Linked DNA regions of Homo sapiens: all the other regions are linked to region 1. Evidence: promoter capture Hi-C in 16 types of primary human blood cells and fetal thymus (Javierre and others, 2016). All regions are on one chromosome and are shown on one strand. Each heading gives the region's core, a stretch centred on a gene start or on the middle of the fragment in contact. The rest is flanking DNA. Distances are from core to core; before and after follow the strand shown. Region 1 holds the start of DAAM1 (dishevelled associated activator of morphogenesis 1). Region 2 has its middle 67 kb from the start of DACT1. Region 3 has its middle 23 kb from the start of DHRS7. Region 4 holds the start of ACTR10 (actin related protein 10). Region 5 holds the start of PSMA3 (proteasome 20S subunit alpha 3). Region 6 overlaps PCNX4-DT (PCNX4 divergent transcript). Region 7 overlaps KIAA0586.

Region 1 (2,700 bases), core at 182-2,681:
CCTGAGATCCTCAACTAATTTCATAAATATTTTTTCACTTGAACCCAACTTAGTGTTGCAGAATGAAAGGAGAAAATAAATGATAAGAGTTCCACCAACACTTCAGTAGGGAGTTGTCTGAAATCTTAATTGTGAACCTTTTTTTCACAAGATGCACAGTCTTCTAGAGATTTTGCTAGTGGAACGGGTGTGTGAGCTGATCATTATATGGAATTGAGACACATCAAATGCCATTAAAATTTACATTTACAACTCGAGTAACTAAATGCATTGATTCTTTTCATATTAAAAGACACTTGGTATTCACTGAATAATGAAAAATGCCACGGAAAAAATTATGTATTAACAATACAACCTGCCTAAAGGGTCAGAATTCTGCTACACACCTTTTGCTTACCTTTAAATAAATATTTAGGTGTGTTAAGAGCAGGGCAATTCTTGAACGGCACGATGTTGTTTGGTTTAATGTCTTTATAAAAATATTTGAAAAGGTATGGAAAATGAGGTGAGAGTGTTGTGGATTTAAAAACATGTGTATACATAGATACACAATTATTAAAACTTTAGACAAGGACGTTTTCTTCCTGGGAGTGGAGAGCCACCAGCGCGGGAAGTCTGCTGCAGGGATGAACAAAAGCATGGCTGCACGATAGTATTATCTTTGCAGCAGCAGCAGGCGCCCTGACGGAGGGTTGCGGCGACTGTCTAGTCTATCACACCGCACTTCTGGTAGTGACAACCTCCGTTATTCTGTCAGCTCAGCCGACTAAGTGGTTCCCCGCGTTCTGCCTGGTCACCTTGTCTCCGTTAAACGGGAAGCAGAAAAGAGAAAGGTGAATTGAGGGGGTACAAGGAGATTCCTCCGCCTTGGGACCGGCGTCGCCCCATCCTCTGGAAGTGTTGAGCGGGGAGAATTCGAGGACCGTATTTAACCCAGAAAACAGTAAGCCCTCTGAATTAGCTGCTACGCCTGGGGAAGGCAGAAAAGTCTTAATCGTCCCTTCCCAGCAGGGACCAAGAAAGACCAGTTAGAGCGAGCCTGGCCGGACCACGCGAGCCCCGGACCTCTCCGATCCTTCAGAGCCCGCGCCGGGCAAAGTAGAGGTCAAGTCAACACACACGACCGCAGGGCAGCCCTCCCACTCTCCCGTGCGGTCCGCAGCTCGGCTTCGGAACGACCACCGCTAACACTGCAAGGCTGTAAGGCTGGGAGGGGGCGGGTCCTGAAGGGGGCGGGAATAAGAGGCGGGGCAGAAGGGCGGAGGAGTGTGTCGGGAGATGTAGTTCCGCGAGTCCCGACAGCAAAGCTGTCCCGGCTCCGCTAATAGATTGGGACCACTACTCCCAGGAGTCTGCGCGCCCGACCGGAGCGTCCATGCGCAGTGGGAGCCACTTTGTATCCTATCAGGCGAGGAGAGGGTGATGTCACCTGCGAGTTAGTAACCTACGAGCGGCTGTGAAGGAAACTGTTTAACCGGATCCCATTGTACCCAGAGTGCAGAGCCGCCTTTCCAGCATGCAGGGGCTGCTCAGGTAAGGGGGACGCTCCTCCTTGCCCGCCGCACTCATTCATTAAGTGGCACTGCTCAGTGGTGCGGGGGTGGGCGTGCTTCCGTGGGCTGGGCGCTGGGTTCGCGGCGCGCCCTCCTGCTGCCTCCCCGGAGCTCCCGGGCCAGTAGGTAAATATTAAACCCGTCCTTCAGGTTGGGTCTGGGTGGGAACGGGACCGAGACAGCTCTCGGCTGCCTAGCTGGGGGTGGGAAAATGGCTGCAGCGCAACGCAAACCGAGGCAGCAGGGAGGAAGACGCCCCCAAGGACTGGGGTCCCTCCCTTTCTTTCTAAGGCGCCCGGCTGGCCGAGGAGCTGGCGGGGTAACACTCGCCGCCTTGCTGAAGGCTCCCCGGGGCTGGGGCCGCGGGTACTGCAGCGGCGTCCGCGAGCTCCCGGCCCGGCGGCTCCGAGAGGGAGAACCCCGAGGCAGGCTTGGTGGACACGGCGGTGGCGACAGGGAAGGAGGGACTCGTGTACCCGTTCGCGTCCGAGCAGAGCCCCCAGTGCCCCTGGCACCCTCACTTCCAGCCCCATTCGAAAGGGACGGAGCGCCTGTAATTCAGACTAAGTTGGACCTAAATGTTTCAAAACAGAGAGAAGGGAAATCGGGCGTTGCGGAGGGAGAGCAGGGTGTTGGCGGCCGGGGAGGCTGCGCCGCCTGCGGACCCGGTTGTGAGGCACCGCAGAGGGCTTTTGCCGCCCGTCCCTCTCGGGAGGGCGCATCTCAGTCTCCACGGTCCCTTGGTGTAGAGCACCTGGGCTGGGGCGAAGCGCCTGCCCTGAAGCCCTGGGCCAGGAGGTGGTAGCGCGGGGGTGGAGGTGTCGGATAATCTAATGATTAGGCTCGCTGTGGGGCAGGAGGGCTGGATAATCGGGTTTACCCAGCTGGTTCTGAAAGCCAACTGCTTGTGATCGGCTTGCCCTCTGAGTGGAGACGTGCAGGAGGCCCAGAGCTCTCAGTCCTCTGGATGTTCTTTGCCTTTCCTAGTACCTTCATTTGTTCGTTTACTCATTCATCAAACCCTGCTAAGGTCTCAAGTTGTTCACGGCCTGGCTTTGCGGAGCTACCTCTCGCCCCATAACATATTTAGTGATGCCTGAACTCCATTCCCCTCTCCTTCATCTCCACTTTCTGGAGAGCATCAAGA
Region 2 (2,700 bases), core at 176-2,675, 620 kb before region 1:
CTTTTAAAAATTGTCCCACTTGGATTGTTTTAGAAATCTACCTGTGCCTCATGTGAACAACTTGTGGGGAAAAATTATATTTCTTACACATATAATATAACAATAGCACAAACAAGGAATTTTTCTATAATTTCACCAGCCTGACACACACAGTTTTATTGTCCTATAATCCTCCCCAAGATTTATGCTGTGCATGGTTTTATATAATTACATTATTACATAGGTATAATATTTAGATTGATTTTATTAGATAAGCAATGCATGAATATATATGTCCTGTAAAAATTCAAAACAATAGAAGTCTATAGAGCTAAAAGTGAAAGTCTTCATTACCTCATCCAAATCAGTTTTAGTTTTGTTATCATTTTGTTTTTTTCAAAAGTGAAATCAACTGTAAGTGTTGTCTGTGACTTCCTTTTATTCTCTTAACATGTCTTAGAACTTTCCTTGTCAGTACCTGGACCAAATGTTATAGTGTGCTTTTTTTCATTTAATTTTTTTTTCTTTGAGACAGAGTCTGGCTCTGTTGCCCAGGCTGGAGTGCAGTGGCGCGATCTCCGCTCACTGCAAGCTCCGCCTCCCGGCTTCACGCCATTCTCCTGCCTCAGCCTTACGAGTAGCTGGGACTACAGGCGCCCGCCGCCACACCCAGCTAATTTTTTGTATTTTTAGTAGAGATGGGGTTTCACCATGTTAGCCAGGATGGTCTCGATCTCCTGACCTCGTGATCCGCCTGCCTAGGCCTCCCAAAGTGCTGGGATTACAGATGTGAGCCACTGCACCCGGCCTTCATTTAATATTTTTATAAGTATTTCTTCATGTTGCCAAATATTTTTATAATTTTTTTGAATGATGGGCGTGAGTGGGATTGAGACTTGGTGGCTTATTTATCGGATATAAAATAAGCTATCTCCAAATGGCATGATCCCAAATGAGCAGTGCTTATTTGGTACTGAGTTTATTGGAGAATCATAGAATGGTTCACCAAAAAGGGTTTCAGCCTATTCCCATTTTACAGATGAGGCAACCGAAGCTCCTAAATGGAGCACAGGAAGCAGAATGTCTTGCAGATCTGAGGTTGAGGACCACATGTAAGAAGGAGCTTGGGTACCCGATGACTTCCTTGAGGAGTGTGCCAGCCCTGGGTTGCCCAAACCTGGACTTCTTATTACATGACAAAAAAACCCAGCTTTTGGTTTGGTCACTGTAGTGGGGTTTCTATTACATGTAGCCACATACACTCCCTACTGACACAGCTATGTTCATTCATTCATTTATTCACTCACCAAACAGTTATTTAGTTTTAGTCATGTGCCTGCAATGTACAGGCTATGTTCATAACACTAATAGCTAGCATTTATGGAATACTTAGTACATACAATGCTTATGCCGAGAACTTTACATGTCTGTTCATTTTGTATTCACCACAACCCTCCAAAGTAGATATTATTATCCTAATTTTACAAATGAAGAAACTGAAACTCAGATGAAATAACCTACTCAACAGCACCCAAGTAATAAGCTCCAAAGCCTCTCTGACACTTAACTGCAAGAAATTTCACTTTATTTATCCTTTGGGACATAGGAACCCATACAATTTTTTCTTTGGGTTTTTTTTTTTTTTTAGAAAGATCAAATTCCATCTTTATAATCACACTGTGAATTAGATGTAGTTATTCCCATTTTCTTTTTCTTTCTTTCTTTTCTTTTTTAGACAGGATCTCGCTCTGTTGCTTAGGCTAGAGTGCAGTGGTGTAATCATAGCTCACTGCAGCCTCGACCCCCACCTTGGACTCATGCAATCCTCCCGCCTCACTCTCCCAAGTAGCTGGGACCACAGGTATGTGCCACCATACCTAGATAATGTTTTAAACTTTTCTGTAGAGACAGGGGTCTCCCTATGTTGCCCAGGCTGGTTGGAACTCCTGGCCTCAGGCGATCCTTCCACCTCAGCCTCCCAAAGTGCTAGGAATTACAAGCGTGAGCCACTACAACTGGCCACTGGGCCAATTTTAAATGTCTCTGGCAGGGCTCTCTCCCACATTGCCCACTTCTCGTCCAAGAGAAAACGCTCACTTATCCTTGCACCTTTCCCTCCCCCTTGGTGGGATGTGTGGCACTTCCCATCTTTAAATGAGATTAAGAGAGATCAACTGACTTTAATACAATTAATTCAATGTGACAAGCATGTATTGGGCACTGTGTTCTGGATACTTAGGTGCTGAGGCTACAAAGCCAAATGAGGCAAGGCCTGGCTATAGTGTATGCTGCAGGGAAGGCAAGGCTTTTCTGGAATTACAGAGGTGGCAGAAGTTGTGTTTTCTCCGGCTGGCATCAATTCCTGACTTTCTGTCAGCAGAATATTCCAGACAGGCTGGTTTCTATAAAATTCCTAGGGAGAATCCCAGGGTTTAGGTTCTGGGGGAAGGGAAGAGAGGAAATTGGCAAAAGATACTGCTTGAAAAGGCTGTTTTTCCGTCTTTCCAAATCAGGTACAAAATAATGAACTGACACAGAACGCTTTCTATTTGTTAACTGTTCAGTTTTCCCTAGCACAGGGAGGAGAGTGAGAGAACGGCAACCTTTGCCACATGATTGGAGGCAGATTTGTTTACCAGATCAAAGCCTGTGGGTAATGGAAACCTCGGGGTAGAGGGGGTGGTGCCATGCAGCGGGGCCTACAGAGCCTACTTAGCTGAA
Region 3 (2,700 bases), core at 54-2,553, 1.0 Mb after region 1:
GCGGGTTGCTCCCTGCACAGGGTGCCAGCCAAGGAGCAGGTGGGGATTGAAATCCAGTCCACATTTCACTAGCCAAGCTATACTCACTGGTTTGAATCCATGTTACATAAAGATACCATCCGTCCATCAAGCCTTGTGGACAGAGGGCTGTGTCCACCCAGAGGGAGCACTTTTGTGTCATCTGTACAAAAGCTCCATGTGAACTCATGGGGTTCTTTTCCCCAAATCTCACCAATCAAATGAATCTTTTCTACTCCCTTGTAGAGGAACATCATAGATGGAAGTAAGGCCAGAACTTCCCTTCCGAATACTTGCAAAAGAACCTAAGTTTTATTTTTATGAGCTAGGAAAGGAAGGGAAGAGTTCTACCTAAGACAGATAAGCAGGGAGAAGAGAATTGGCGTTAATTGAACACATACTGTATGCCGGGCATTGGAGAGCATGTGATATGGATAAGCCATTTCATATTATTTGACCAAGTGTGTTAAGATTGATACTTCAGATGAGCGTCTTGAAGATTACATTAAAGAAGACCACACATCCAAAAGTGATGACACTTGAATCCAAAGTCCATCATCTACTACCACTCTGTGGTACTTTGTACTCTTTCAACAAAAAGTCCTACTGGCAGTGACTATTCTTTAAGATTTCCAGGAGCTGAGGAGCATGGCGCTGAACAATACAGACACAACTGTTATCCCATGATCTGCAATGAGAAACACAAGCCAGGCAGGATCAAGTTTTTAGACAGGTGTGTTCCAAAAGTTCACTTCAAGACTAATGCTTAGCAAATATTTTTTCTAAGTTATAAATAAAGATTACTTTCCTGAGTTAGCTCAAAAAATTGTTTTTAGTGTGGTTTGGACCCTTAACCCCTGAGATAGAGCTTCCCTGATTCTCTCTGATCATCGAGTCCCACTGGGTACCTTTGTGAGCCAGTAAACTCCCAGGTGGACTGGCTGTGTAAATGAGGGGGCTTGTAAAGCAAGCAACATAAAACGAAGGGTCTATGTAAAAAGTCCTACAAATAGGGCTTTGAAAATCTCTATTGCAGGGTTTCTCAAACTCAGCACTGTTAACATTTTGGGCCAGATAATTCTTGGTTGTGGGCGCTGTCTAGTACATTATAAGACATTTAGCAGCATCCTTGGACTTAACCCACTAGATGTCAGTAACAACCTCCCACCATCACAAGTTATGATAATCAAAAATGTCTCCAGACATTGCCAAATGTCCTGTGTGGGACCAAAATAGCTCTCCATTGAGACTTCGGAGTGCAATGGCTTCTGAACAATGGCCTATAACCATTTAGGTATTCCATAACTCTCAAAGGCCTAAAACCCAGGTTCTGTGAATAAATTCACTAATGTGTAAAAAAGCATAACATCTTAAAAAGTAAAACACAATTTTTGATGGTTGTGAAGGGCTATTTAAAAATTTTTAAAGATTTAATACCTCTAAATACCTAGATTTTTTAATACCTAGAAATATTTAATACTTTTTCTCATATAAAAGATGATTGAAGATTGTTTTTCAATCTCAAATAAAATATACTGTTCCCCAGACAGTGTAAGATATTTTAGAATAAGAATTAATTAAGAATTATGATACTCTTATTTTCAGGTGGTAATTTAGTATCAACAACAGGCCTTTTCTTTGGCTATAAACAGAAAAATGTGGGTGTGGACATAATGAAGCAATTGTACAGTTTGAAATAGTGAATAACTCACATCCCTCATAGAGAAAGGGTCATGCTACCTTCACAACGCAGGCCAAGAAAATTCCCATGATCTAAGCCACATAGAAGAGTTTCAGATTCCACAAAATACTTTGAGCCCCCTCCTTTATTCTCCCATCCCATTATTCTCTGTTTTTGAATGATCAAAAAGTGAAGTTTCCTTCACTTTTGGGCTAATGCCCAAATGCCCTTTGGGAAAGTTCAACTTCTCTTTTATTTGAAAATTAAAATTCTTATCTGATGAACTTCAAAATCTCCATCCAAAGATGAATACAGAGGTTATGAGTTGCTCTAGCTCTCTAAGTGCTACATAAAACAGACGAAGAATAGAATTCCAGGACTCGGCCTTCCCAGTCCGCTATAGACATTATTATAATTCTCCAACTGAAAGCCAAATTCTGGCTATAAATTCTGGCTATGTTACCATTAAGCTGACTTCTCATCCACATTTTCTAATACCAACACTTTCAAAAAGAATTGAAAACATATATGGTTAGTATATAAGCAGAGTATAGCGGCTGAGAGCTGGGATGCTGGCACCCAATGACTTCGATGCAGAATCTTGGCTCTGCCACTTACTAGCTTGTGACCTTGAGACCCTCCACCTCAACCTCTTTGTGCCTGTTTCCTCAACTACCCAGTGGAGATAATAAAAGTGTTCATACCTTAAGGTAGTTATAAGGAATTAATGAGTCAATATTTATAAAGCGCATAGATTGGTATCTAACACACAGTAAGTGCTAAAAAGGTATCTGTTAAACAAAATTATACAATAAATAGAGCAACACAAGGCCTTTGTCCCATTATTACAATCATGAAATGCTCTAGGGGAAAAATGAGAAAACAGGCTTTTTGTTTTTGCTACTGTCACTTCCTTCTTCCAGTCCCTTCTTCCTTTTTCTGTGTCTATTTCATGTCTTCTTTCCAGGTTCCTACCAGGGTGTTAGCAGAGAACAACTGGT
Region 4 (2,700 bases), core at 106-2,605, 990 kb before region 1:
AATAGCTTATCCCCAACTACCCCGCTAACTCTAGTTACCAACCATTAGAGTAGGGCCTTTTTTTTTTTTTTTTTTTTTTTTGAGAGACAGGCTCTCACTCTTGTTGTTGCCCAGGCTGGAGTGCAGCGGCACAATCCCGACTCACTGCCGCTTTAGACTTCTTGGGCTCAAGGGATCCTCCCGCTTCGGCCTCCCAAAGTGCTGGGATTACAGGTGTGATCCTGCGCTCGGACAGTTGGGACATCTTAATACAGTATAACCTCATCTTAACTTGATTACATCTGCCAAGACTCTATTTCCAAATAGGGTCACATTCTGAGGTTCCCAGTGGACAAGAATTTTGGGGGGGGGGGCATCATTCAACCCAGTACACCAGCTAAATGTTGCTAGTCCTCACCGATTTACCCTTGAACCTCTTTTCTTATTGCACAGCCTCTCCTTTGACAGTCTTTTCCACTCCTATGCATAGATACAGTTAGAGCTAATATTTGCAGGAAAAAAATATTTTCACAGAAAGCTGTGAAGTGACAAAGATGTAAACAGTAATGTAAATGTTAAAAGTAGTGGCAAAAACAGCAATTACTTTTGCACCAACCTAATAGGGGCCTTTGCTTCAATGTTTCTTCTATTAAACCATCCCGACCGCTCCTCTATGGACAGATTCAAGATTCACAGACGCTACTCTAGCTGCTTAATTCTGGAGTAAAATAAAAACTTTCAGAAAGACTACTAACTAAAGTATTGTCTGTACGTATTATTCTCTAAAGCATCATTAGCATAGGCTTTGCAATTAGGAAGTCTGTGGGTTTGTTCCTGGCTCTGCCGTGGGACATTGGGAAAGTTAATCTCTCTGAGCGTCGGTCCCCACAGATAAGAAAACACATATTCTTGTTATTTCTTGAGAAGATTAAATATTAGGCAAAACGCCTAGCACAGAATAGGGTCTCAGCATCTTCTGCCCCCCAAGAGCATGAATCAAAGGTTCGGAATTGCGTCGTCTCTCGGCTGCCCCTTGGCAGCCAGGTCCTCAGTGACCTCTTCACAGTGAGCTGAGACCGAACCTCTTCACAGCCGCGCGTGGGTGCGGCTTTGGGGCGTGGTGGGAGGGAAGGATAGGGAGGCCGGCTCCGCCCCCTCAGGGCGACCGGCGCGCCTGATCGCCGCGGCCTCCGCGCCCCCGCACTCGGATTCGCGCCCGCCAGCGCCTCTTTTCCCCTAGTCCTGGCGACGGCAGCACCTGCAAGGGTGGGTCCAACGCGGAATGAGGCACAGCCTGGGACAGCCCGGGCCCGGCGCGCCGCGGCCGCGCGAGGCCCCCGCCGTCGCCGACGCCCGAGCGCCGGAGCCCCGGCCCCGCCCCGCGAGCGCCGAGACTTGTTGGCCGCGGAGACTGCGACCCTCTTCTCTCAGTCTGCCTTACTACCATGCCGCTCTACGAGGGCCTGGGGAGCGGCGGGGAGAAGACGGCGGTCGTGATCGACCTGGGAGAGGCCTTTACCAAGTGAGTGGCCGTGACGCCAGCTGTGTTCGACCCGAGGGGAGGGCGGGTGGCAGAGCCCCAGGCACTGCCTGGGTCCTCATCGCCGACTCGCTGGGCAGCTCCGGGCCTCCCCTTTTCTTCAACCAGCGCCCTTGCAAATAACAGCTCTTATTATTTCCTCCCTGGGCGATGCGAATCCGAGGATCGGGGTCTGACTCCCAGAGAGGCCCAGAAAGCTTCTGTTGAATTGCCCTCGTCGCCGCCCCTTGTCATCACCCCAAACCCAACAAACCCTTTGGGATCATCTGTGTAGGGGATGACAACCGTGACCTAGACCCCGCTTACCCTGGGCTCCTCAGTTGAGGAAGGCAGCCAACCGAATGTAAATGCTCGATGACGAATTTCATCATAAAATATTGAACGGAGTTTATTTTGGTGCTGAAAATGGAAAGATGTTTAAGACAGGGCTATCGCTGCTCAAGAATTAGGGAGACTGGGCACATTAAGAGGTGAAACCCTATAGATAAGATTCTGGAAATCCTTTGTTGGCTCCCCTAAACTCGAAGGTTAGATTTGACATGTTTTAAACAAACCAACTTGTAAACAATAGAGAGGAGGTTCTCAACCTTTCGGATGGCATAGATCTCTTTAATGGCTGGATGAAAACCACAAATGCACAAATCTTAAGGTACTTATACACAGTTTCAGGGAATTGGCAGACAATCAATGTGGTCCTGGGACCCTAGATTAAGAGTCCTTGTGATGGGCTCAACAGAGAGGGAAGTAACAGGCAATTACATCATATATGTATTTATGAAAATGAAACATTTGAAAAATCTTTTTATATCTCTAGGCACTTCCTGACGTGTAGTAGGTATTTAATAACTATTTATTGACTAAGTGGTTAAAAGAGCCTATTTAAAAATTGGACCCCAGGAACTCCAGAATTGGATTAAACATAGTCCTTGGTTAATGACATTCTCTTATTGTTCTATGCGAGGCCCTTCCTTATTTATATTTTCTTATTAAAATTATTTTGAAAGCGTAATAAACAGTTCGAGGCTTCTAGTCAAAGATAATTATTTTGGCTGTACTTGGAAGAAATAAGCAAAAAGCTATATTTGAAAAAGACAGCAGGAGGATGATAAGATAAATGTATGAAGTAAAAAAAAGGAATTGAAGTCTAATGGCTTGCATTCTGAGATGTTTGAGGAGCACTG
Region 5 (2,700 bases), core at 156-2,655, 940 kb before region 1:
ACATCATGTCCCTTCTAATGTAATGCTCTGACATGAATGAATACAAGGTCATTTCTGTAGTATTCCTGCCATAAATGCATCACTTGAATCAAATAACAAAAAAATCAAACCTAAATTAAGGAATATTCTACAAAATAAATGGTTTGTATTCTTCAAAAGTGTTCATGCCATGAAAACTGAAGAAATACTAAGCAACTATTTTCCAGACTAAAGCAGATTGGAAACATGACAACTGAATGCAAGGTGTGATCTTGGATTTTCTTTTGCTATGAAGGACATTATTGGGCCATTTACCAAAAAAAAAAAAAAAATGCATAAAGTTGATAGATCATAGTATTGGTAATTTTCTGATTTTCACAATAATACTGTGTCTCTGTGAAATAATGTTCCTGTGTTGGGGGAAAATACACACTGACGTATTAATATTTAGGAGTAAAAAAAATGCTGATGCCCTATTTACAATCGGATTAAAATTCAAACCACTTCAAGATTTGGTCTCCTGTGCACTTGTTCTCTTCCTGTCATTCTTCCCCACTTAATCATTATGAGAGGTCACTCTGACGTGACAGTTCCCAGCGCAAGCCAAGTTTTTTACTGTTCCCTAAACCACTGTCTTTTGTTACCCTATTTTAGTTTAAATATCACTCACTCAGAAAGTCATTCCCTGAGCACACTGCCTAAAGTTAGTACCTCCATTGTCTATTAAAGCACTCTTTCTTCTTACTATTTTGCTTATTTATTGTTACCTATTTATTCCCACTGAATGGAAATTACATTAGAAATGGGGGTATGCTCTGTTCACGGCTTTTTCTTGAACACGTGGAATATACTAGCGCTCAAAAAATATCTTTAATCAGACTTATCTTTAACTCTTACCAAAAAGCGTTATACTCATAGAAAGAGCACTAATACTTCCGTAAAATTCTAAGCTGAATTCAAAGACGATACCCTTTAAGTGAAACTTCACGAGAGCCTGAGCACAAGGAGGTGAAGTGGATGCCATCAAGATTCTGGGTCAGGGTCGGGACGCGGAGGAAGACAGGTTACTTCGCGCCTACTGCTTTTTCTACTTTTTGTGAGAGTATACCAGCATCTCTCCCTTTGGCTTAAAGAAAGAATAAAGTGAGGAGAGAATAATAATATAAAAGATAAATAATAATTCCAAGGAAAGGAATAGAGCAGCTTCTCAGATACCACGACGCCAAGCGGCTCAAAGTACGCGAACCGAAGGAGGAGCCTTTGCTTTCCCCAACCCCGCCTCCATTGCTTCTGCACATGCGCGCCGCCAGCCTCTCGCGGCCCGCTTTTTTCCCACAATACTCCTCGTCCTGGGGGCCGGAGCCGCGGAACGAGCCACAGAGAAAAAGGTTATTGGTTGGCAGTTCAGCCAATGAGCGGGCCTGTTACTAGTTTGCGGCATCCTGTGGTATAGGGGAAGCGCTCCGGGCCTGGAATCCCTACGCGTCCCTTTGGGTTTAGCACGATGAGCTCAATCGGCACTGGGGTGAGTTCGCTGTCTGTCGGTGTAATAGTTTAACCTAAGGATTGGGGTTGAAGGGAACTCGGACAGACCACATGGGGTTCGCGGACCCGGGGTGCTCTGAGACCGCCTTCGGCTGGGTGGGCCATTTGCAGCTGTTTGGAGACCGGTCGTCTTTATCCCCTATATGCTAGGCCTGCGTCTCAGGTGACCGTGACTCCTGAAGCTTTTCAGCGCAGGTGTAGCCGGCTTGGCGTCGCCGCAGTGAGGTTTGGAGCCGCTTTGGATTGCTGAGTCACTTTCTTCAGCCACTTAGGGAAACCGAAAGTGGAAACTCGTGGGGCTTGAAATAGTGTGTTCTCTTGAGAACCACCGAGGCAGTGAGATTTGGGATTCCGGGGTCTGGAGATCGTGCTTTTTGTGGACTGCGTTTGCAGTTCCTAGGGTGCTGCTGATTCACAGGCCTTCTCTGTCTTTAAGTGTGCAGATCATTGACCGCTCAGTTTAAGAGTCACTGGAAATCCTGTCGGAACAGAACTAATAAAAATGGTCTGAAAAACAATCTGATGAATCCTTCAGTTTTTCCTTTCTCGTTTTTCCTATACAAATTACCTAACAGCGCTTGTAGGCATTTATTCCGTAAACGTTTAAATGGTTACTTAGGAACTTAACAGCTTCAGACTTTTCATAGACTGTTGAGGATTTTGCAGTGGGACTTGTTAACTTGTTTGGCTTTCCTTTGTTAAACGTATTGCATATGTGCAGTCAGTTTACTCCTTTTATGTACTTCTCTATATAGAAAATACAGTTTCTAAAAGATTTATTGGTTATTTGCACTAGAGTTATTGAATAATGAGTTTCTCAGTTCCTCAATTTCTACTTCTTAACAAGATTCTCATGCTCAGCCTTAAGTTCAAGTACCGGTGTTCTAAATTTGATAATAGGCAACTTATGTCTGGAATGGTTTAATCCATTCAGTTATGAATGCTAAAGTTCTGCCATACTTTTCTTGGATAAGTAAATGCTCAATATTAAATCTTGTAGCAAACTGACTTTGCAATTATATTAATATTACCTTGAATTAATAGTATTTCATTCTACAAACCTTTTAAAGAATACTTGATAATGTAACCATGTGGGATATTTTAGTAACAATGGTAGGGTTAATGATCTGGGTTTAACAGATCAGGAAACAGACTCAGAAAGTACCACTGCTGAAG
Region 6 (2,700 bases), core at 29-2,528, 900 kb after region 1:
CATCAGTAATTACTGTAAATTTTTCAGAACTGCAATTTAAAAGAAATATATTGTATCTTAGAGTAAAGCTTGAGACCAACCAATCGCAAAGCTATGATTACATTATATATTGTTTATTTGATGGTTCTATTTATGATTGTTTATGGGATATGAAAGTTTCTATATTAAAGAAAGTTTCAATATGAAACACTGTAATTAACTATTGGGCACGTCCTGTCTTTAATATTCTCATAACTCATAACTTGCCCAACCCAAATCTCACGAACATGCTCAGACACTCTAAAATTTCTACTCATCACATGTCCTTTCACATGATGTTTGATGCATATCATGATCTATGATACAGTGACTTTCAATAAGCCATATAAGTCAATCTTTTTATTTTATAGTCCTTTTCTTCTTCGGTTTTCTTCTTGTCCCATTAAGATATAAACCTTGACATTCTTTTCCAATCTTATTACTTCAACAATCTTTTAAAAAAAATTATTGAATATTCTACATCTTAACTTCTCTCCCAAGGTCAATATGTAATATAGGTCCAATTCTGTATTTCCAACTGGGCATAGGCACCTGAATATCGCATCAGCCCCTTACACACAGGTCTCAAAGTAGATTCATTATCTTTCTTCCCAAAGCTATTATTCCTCCTGTGTTTCTTTAAAGGCACCCGGAACTGTGAGCATGATTTTGCCTTCTCTTTGGCCCATACCTAGTGCTGCAGCTCTGCATTATTTTCAGAGACTTCTGGCCAGTGGTCTCTGGGAACAAGGCAGAGTGAGGGTTTATGGTGTGGGTTTTGCTTTTGTTTTACTTTTTAGCAAGAGAAGTTAACTTGGGTATGAACTGAAAACGGGCATTACCATTACACAATAACACGTATGTCATGATAATGCCTGGCTAAACATCTTCTCTGGCTGAAGCAGCAGTTCCAGATTTTTCACAATTTGTTTCATTTTATGTGAATCAGCAGGGTAGGAAAAAATACACGAATCTTGAAGACATACAGATACGGACTCAACTCCAGATGTCATCACTTATTTTACTTTTCTCAAGCTCAGATTCCTTACATTTGAAATAATAATAAGCTACCTCATAAGGTTAAGATTAAATGAGGTACACAAAGTACTGATTCTATGTATGCTCTAAGTATGTGTTGAATGAATTAAAGAATAAATGTTCCCCTACCTGGAATACCTCTTCTCCCAGCTAACTCTGTTTTTGTTTTTGTTTTGTTTTTTTTTTTTTGAGACAAGATCTCACTCTGTTGTCCAGGCTGGAGTGCAGTGGTGCAATTTCGGCTCACTGCAACAACCTCTTACCTCAGCCTCTGAGTAGCTGGGACCACAGGCGCACACAACCACACCTGGCTAATTTTTTGTATCTTTTGTAGAGACAGGGTTTCACCATGTTGCCTCAAACTCCTAGGCTCAAGCGATCCTCCTACCTCAGCCTCCCAAAGTGCTAGGATTGCAGGCAAGAGCCACCACGCCTGGCCCAGCTGTCCACTCACCCTTTAAAAATGGATTGCAACCATCCTTAATTTCCCCAGAATTATGTGTCCCACTTTGTTTCTGAAGCTCAGCGCATACCTGTTTATCACATACACTGTAATTACTGATGTCCTTGTTGTTCAAGTTATGTCCTTGATGTCCAAGTTATATTTTGGTAAATTCCTTAAGGATCATGTTTTATTTGACTTTATATCTGCAGCAATTAGTGTAGTTCCTGACAAATAGGAACCACTATTCCCTTCACTATTTCAATAAATGTTGAATGAATATTTTATACACAGCTAACCAAAGGGCTTGTACCATATGCCCTACTAATTTTATTCTAAGAAAGCACGATGTTCAAATATATTTGAAAAACAGCAGATATTTCAACAATAAACATGTTAATTCTGCTTGGGTCATATGTAATGCCCATGAGAAGAACAAGCATAAATACAGACTCTCTACATAAAGATAATAGCTCATCCTTACTAAGCACTTAAGCTGTGCCATTTACTCTGCTAAGCAATTTACAATTATTTGATTTAATCCAATGACATAACTCTCTGCGGGTTAAGTTCTATTATTTGCCTTATTTTACAAGATATGGGGAAACTGAGCACTAGAGAAATTACATAACCTCAAGATCTCACAAGTAGTAAGCAGTAGTGCCAGGGTTTCAACCCAGACTTCCTGACTCTGGAGCCTCCACTCTTAATTACATGAAACTCAGACTTCTTGGCGGTAAGTGATGCTTCCGAGATGCTTAATGTGGTACTCTGACCCGCAATGAGTGAGCTTCAATGAGAAAAACTATGGATGGACCAACAGCACGTTTTCCCATATTCTATCAAATCGTGAAGATACCAAACTATGAAAGGGTCTACCTGCAAATTAAGTCCTTGAAGACAAGTATATGTATATCCGGGGTTTTCTTCCACATGCTTTCAACACACTACACTTTTGCTCTGGACACAATATCTTAAAAATAAATAAATAAAGCTTTGGCTTTTAATATGAACACAGTAATTATTTTTCTATTACGACCTGAAAACCTAAATACTTAAATACAAAGTCAGCATTTCCAAGACAGCCAAGAGCCAAGAATTAAAAAAAAAAAAAAATTAAGGCCGCATTTATAGTTTTGAGGAATGGAGATCCAAACAAAACAGTCCACAAGTCATCTTGGACGCTGAAGTGTGCAGAACTG
Region 7 (2,700 bases), core at 13-2,512, 720 kb before region 1:
CCGCCTCCCGGGTTCAACCAATTCTCCTGCCTCAGCCTCCTGAGTAGCTGGGATTACAGGTGCCTGCCACCACGCCCGGCTAATTTTTGTATTTTTAGTAGAGATGGGGTTTCACCATGCTGGCCAGGCTGATCTTGAACTCCTGACTCCAAGTGATCCCTCTACCTCGGCCTCCCAAGTTCGGGAATTACAGGCGTGAGCCACCACGCCAGCCCAAAACAAATTTTGAATTGTTTATGAACTTGAAAGTTTGTTTCAGATCCTTACATTTATAACTATTTGGAAAGTGATAATCTTTAGTGTAACTTTTTGGTAATTTAAGTTGTGAAACTCTCATGTGAAGAAAGAATTTCTGTCACTTTGGTGATGAATCTTTGATTTACATGGGAATTATAGATATCCTAAATGAATTTTATAGTGACAGTTGGGAGTTTATATTTTGGAATGTTACCTTGTTATCCCACTGTTGACATGATACAAAAATATGCATTTCTTCCTGGCATTTATTTGCTTTTGAATAATGAAGTTATGGCTTTACTACACAGCAAAATAGCACTGTAACTTACCCCAGGTTTTGTTTATTGTAAGCAAACTTGGCCAAGGGTACAGTTTTAAAAGGAGAGAGAATACCAGCAATCTTTCATGATCATAAGTAATGAAATAGAACTGTCCGTAAGTGACATTTGTGCTTAATTGAATTTTTTCATCAGTATTTTTTTTTAACCTTCTGTTTATTGAAACTTCTGTGATAACAAGCAATAAATTTTTGGACTGTTTATCATTCTGCTGTCAGTAAGAGGCTATTGCATGACTACATTTTATATAATGAGGCCTAATGATTAGATTTGTAAAATGACTATTTTGTTTTTTTTCCTGAATTATTTGATTCTGTATCCATCTTCATGTGAGTTCATATATGTTTATACTTAGAGATCTACACATGTAAACACTTTCCTTTATCTTAATTCTGGAAGAGAAGTCTCAATTATATCAACCTGTTGATCAATTAAGTGATATTGCTGATGGAGTCCTTTACAGAAAAACAGCTGATTAATTTTTTAAAGCTATTGAAATGTTGACCTAATGGCTTGGGGACTAGCTTGGATTTCATTTACTAATTAAATCAATTCTGAATAGGGTATTAAAATGATTAAAAAGGACCATGTAATTATAAGCTTATACTATAGGTGGAAATATGATAAATTACTTATAAATTTTAAAAGTGTTAAGCACAACAAAAACTTTCTGAAAATGCTTTCTTAGACTCCAGAAATTATGAAGGTAGATGAAGAAGAGGTGAAGTTTCCAGGAACTAACTTTGATGAAATAATCGATGTCATACAGGTAACAAAGCTTAGAAACCATGAGAAATTATTTTTCTACCGGTATTTTTCCAGGTTGTTGACTATCTTTGGACTATCAATATTATGTTACAGTGCTTTGAGATACTTTCTTTTACTTTTGAGTTAAATATACTTTTAAAAATTATAAAGTTGTTATTCTAGAATGTCTTTAATCTATATCACCTATCTGCCTTCATGAAGCTTCATGATTATCTGCCGTTCCCCACCTAGATTTTGTCTATCTGTTTCCTGCTTTCTTCTTTCTTTCCACTTCCTTTGGCTTCTTTTCCTCCAATTTGTCTTTTTTTCTTTCTGTTAATTTTGGTTTTTGGATTCATGGTGAGGTGACTAGTTAATTGATATTGAGAAAAAAGTTGTGAGAAATCTATAATCCAAAGGAATATCCCATATGGAAGGAAGAGTTATAGAAATGATAGAAATAATGAAATAGAGGGAAAAATAGGTGGAAGTAAATTATAAAGGATGGGACAAAAGATCATAGAACATTGAAACTACTTGACCATTATGTCATTAGACTTTAAAGAACACATTTGATCAAGTTTCTTTGACTTTTAGAGCTAAGATCAGTTTTGTTAATCATAAAATGAAATCCAATTTTAGAATATACAGAGGTGTGCAGTATATTAATGTTATTCGCTCACAGATATGTCTTTTCTCATGTGAGTGCCACATGAGAATTTTGAAGACAGGGACCTTATTTATTTTTATATTCCTAATGCCTAGCAAAGGTACTTGGTAATTGTTTATGCAATATACAAGCGAAAGAAATGGTTATAGAAGTAGCAGAGAATTTAGCATTCAAAGACAAGTGTTCCTGTATTAGCTCTGCCATTTATAAGCTGTGGACTTCATTTTTCAATGGAATAATATTACTGAGTTGTACTATTTAGAGAGACCCAAAGTGTTTTTGATTGAATTATTTATAGATAAAATGATGTGATATCTGTGATTTGCTTCAAAATGATATGTGAAGGGGAAAGTGGCTAGATGAGACAAGATTGACCATAAGTTGATAATTGTTAAAGCTGGGGAGCGGATAAATGCAATTCATGTTATTTATGTAACAGATACAGTACAAGGACACTATTTGTTTACTTTTAAACACATATGATTTTTTTGTAATAAAAACTTTAACAATTCCAGAAATAACTCTATTGGTTATGATGTGGTAATGCAAATAATTTGTAAGATGACTGACCTTATTGCATATTTAAATGTAAATTATAAGTTGTATAAGAGCAAAAAGTGATTTTGGAAGTGTATTAGTGTATTTTGCATTGTTATAAAGGAATTACTGGGTAATTTATAAAGAAAAGAGACTTAAGGCCAGGTACAG

What was found. The method cuts DNA at HindIII sites, captures the fragments that hold promoters and counts their contacts. A CHiCAGO score of 5 or more calls a contact.
Region 2: a contact is called between a fragment that was not itself captured here and the fragment with the promoter of DAAM1 in region 1, in 1 of 17 cell types (naive CD4 T cells). The highest score is 5.6, in naive CD4 T cells.
Region 3: a contact is called between a fragment that was not itself captured here and the fragment with the promoter of DAAM1 in region 1, in 2 of 17 cell types (total CD8 T cells and naive CD8 T cells). The highest score is 6.1, in total CD8 T cells.
Region 4: the fragment with the promoter of ACTR10 here is called in contact with the fragment with the promoter of DAAM1 in region 1 in 9 of 17 cell types (naive CD4 T cells, naive CD8 T cells, non-activated CD4 T cells and 6 more); the score reaches 15.4 in naive CD4 T cells.
Region 5: a contact is called between the fragment with the promoter of PSMA3 here and the fragment with the promoter of DAAM1 in region 1, in 4 of 17 cell types (naive CD4 T cells, naive CD8 T cells, total B cells and 1 more). The highest score is 6.3, in naive CD4 T cells.
Region 6: a fragment that was not itself captured here is called in contact with the fragment with the promoter of DAAM1 in region 1 in 4 of 17 cell types (naive CD8 T cells, total CD8 T cells, fetal thymus and 1 more); the score reaches 6.8 in naive CD8 T cells.
Region 7: a contact is called between a fragment that was not itself captured here and the fragment with the promoter of DAAM1 in region 1, in 2 of 17 cell types (M2 macrophages and erythroblasts). The highest score is 5.3, in M2 macrophages.

What each region holds. Positions count from the first base shown.
Region 1 is chr14:59,187,236-59,189,935 of GRCh38, forward strand. It overlaps DAAM1 (dishevelled associated activator of morphogenesis 1), which reads left to right and starts at 1,432. Exons shown (of 25, transcript NM_001270520.2): 1 at 1,432-1,533. RefSeq lists enhancers at 935-1,174, 1,955-2,700, 2,425-2,584 and silencers at 1,645-1,784, 1,845-2,064. The HindIII fragment of the contact is 5,514 bases long and covers 1-2,700 here.
Region 2 is chr14:58,569,549-58,572,248 of GRCh38, forward strand. No RefSeq gene overlaps it. Among named protein-coding and RNA genes, the nearest start is that of DACT1, 67 kb to the right of the region's middle. The HindIII fragment of the contact is 3,073 bases long and covers 1-2,700 here.
Region 3 is chr14:60,187,138-60,189,837 of GRCh38, forward strand. No RefSeq gene overlaps it. Among named protein-coding and RNA genes, the nearest start is that of DHRS7, 23 kb to the left of the region's middle. The HindIII fragment of the contact is 2,835 bases long and covers 1-2,700 here.
Region 4 is chr14:58,198,794-58,201,493 of GRCh38, forward strand. ACTR10 (actin related protein 10) reads left to right here and starts at 1,356. Exons shown (of 13, transcript NM_018477.3): 1 at 1,356-1,501. The coding sequence starts at 1,425. RefSeq lists enhancers at 799-928, 1,549-1,738 and a silencer at 999-1,388. The HindIII fragment of the contact is 4,366 bases long and covers 1-1,714 here.
Region 5 is chr14:58,243,438-58,246,137 of GRCh38, forward strand. PSMA3 (proteasome 20S subunit alpha 3) reads left to right here and starts at 1,406. Exons shown (of 11, transcript NM_002788.4): 1 at 1,406-1,504. The coding sequence starts at 1,484. RefSeq lists enhancers at 960-1,009, 1,050-1,249, 1,418-2,315, 1,430-1,879. The HindIII fragment of the contact is 17,362 bases long and covers 1-1,704 here.
Region 6 is chr14:60,088,495-60,091,194 of GRCh38, forward strand. All of the region lies in intron 1 of PCNX4-DT (PCNX4 divergent transcript), which reads right to left. Among named protein-coding and RNA genes, the nearest start is that of PCNX4-DT, 1.9 kb to the right of the region's middle. The HindIII fragment of the contact is 2,424 bases long and covers 67-2,490 here.
Region 7 is chr14:58,470,936-58,473,635 of GRCh38, forward strand. KIAA0586 reads left to right here. Exons shown (of 31, transcript NM_001329943.3): 18 at 1,264-1,344. Among named protein-coding and RNA genes, the nearest start is that of KIAA0586, 45 kb to the left of the region's middle. The HindIII fragment of the contact is 178 bases long and covers 1,174-1,351 here.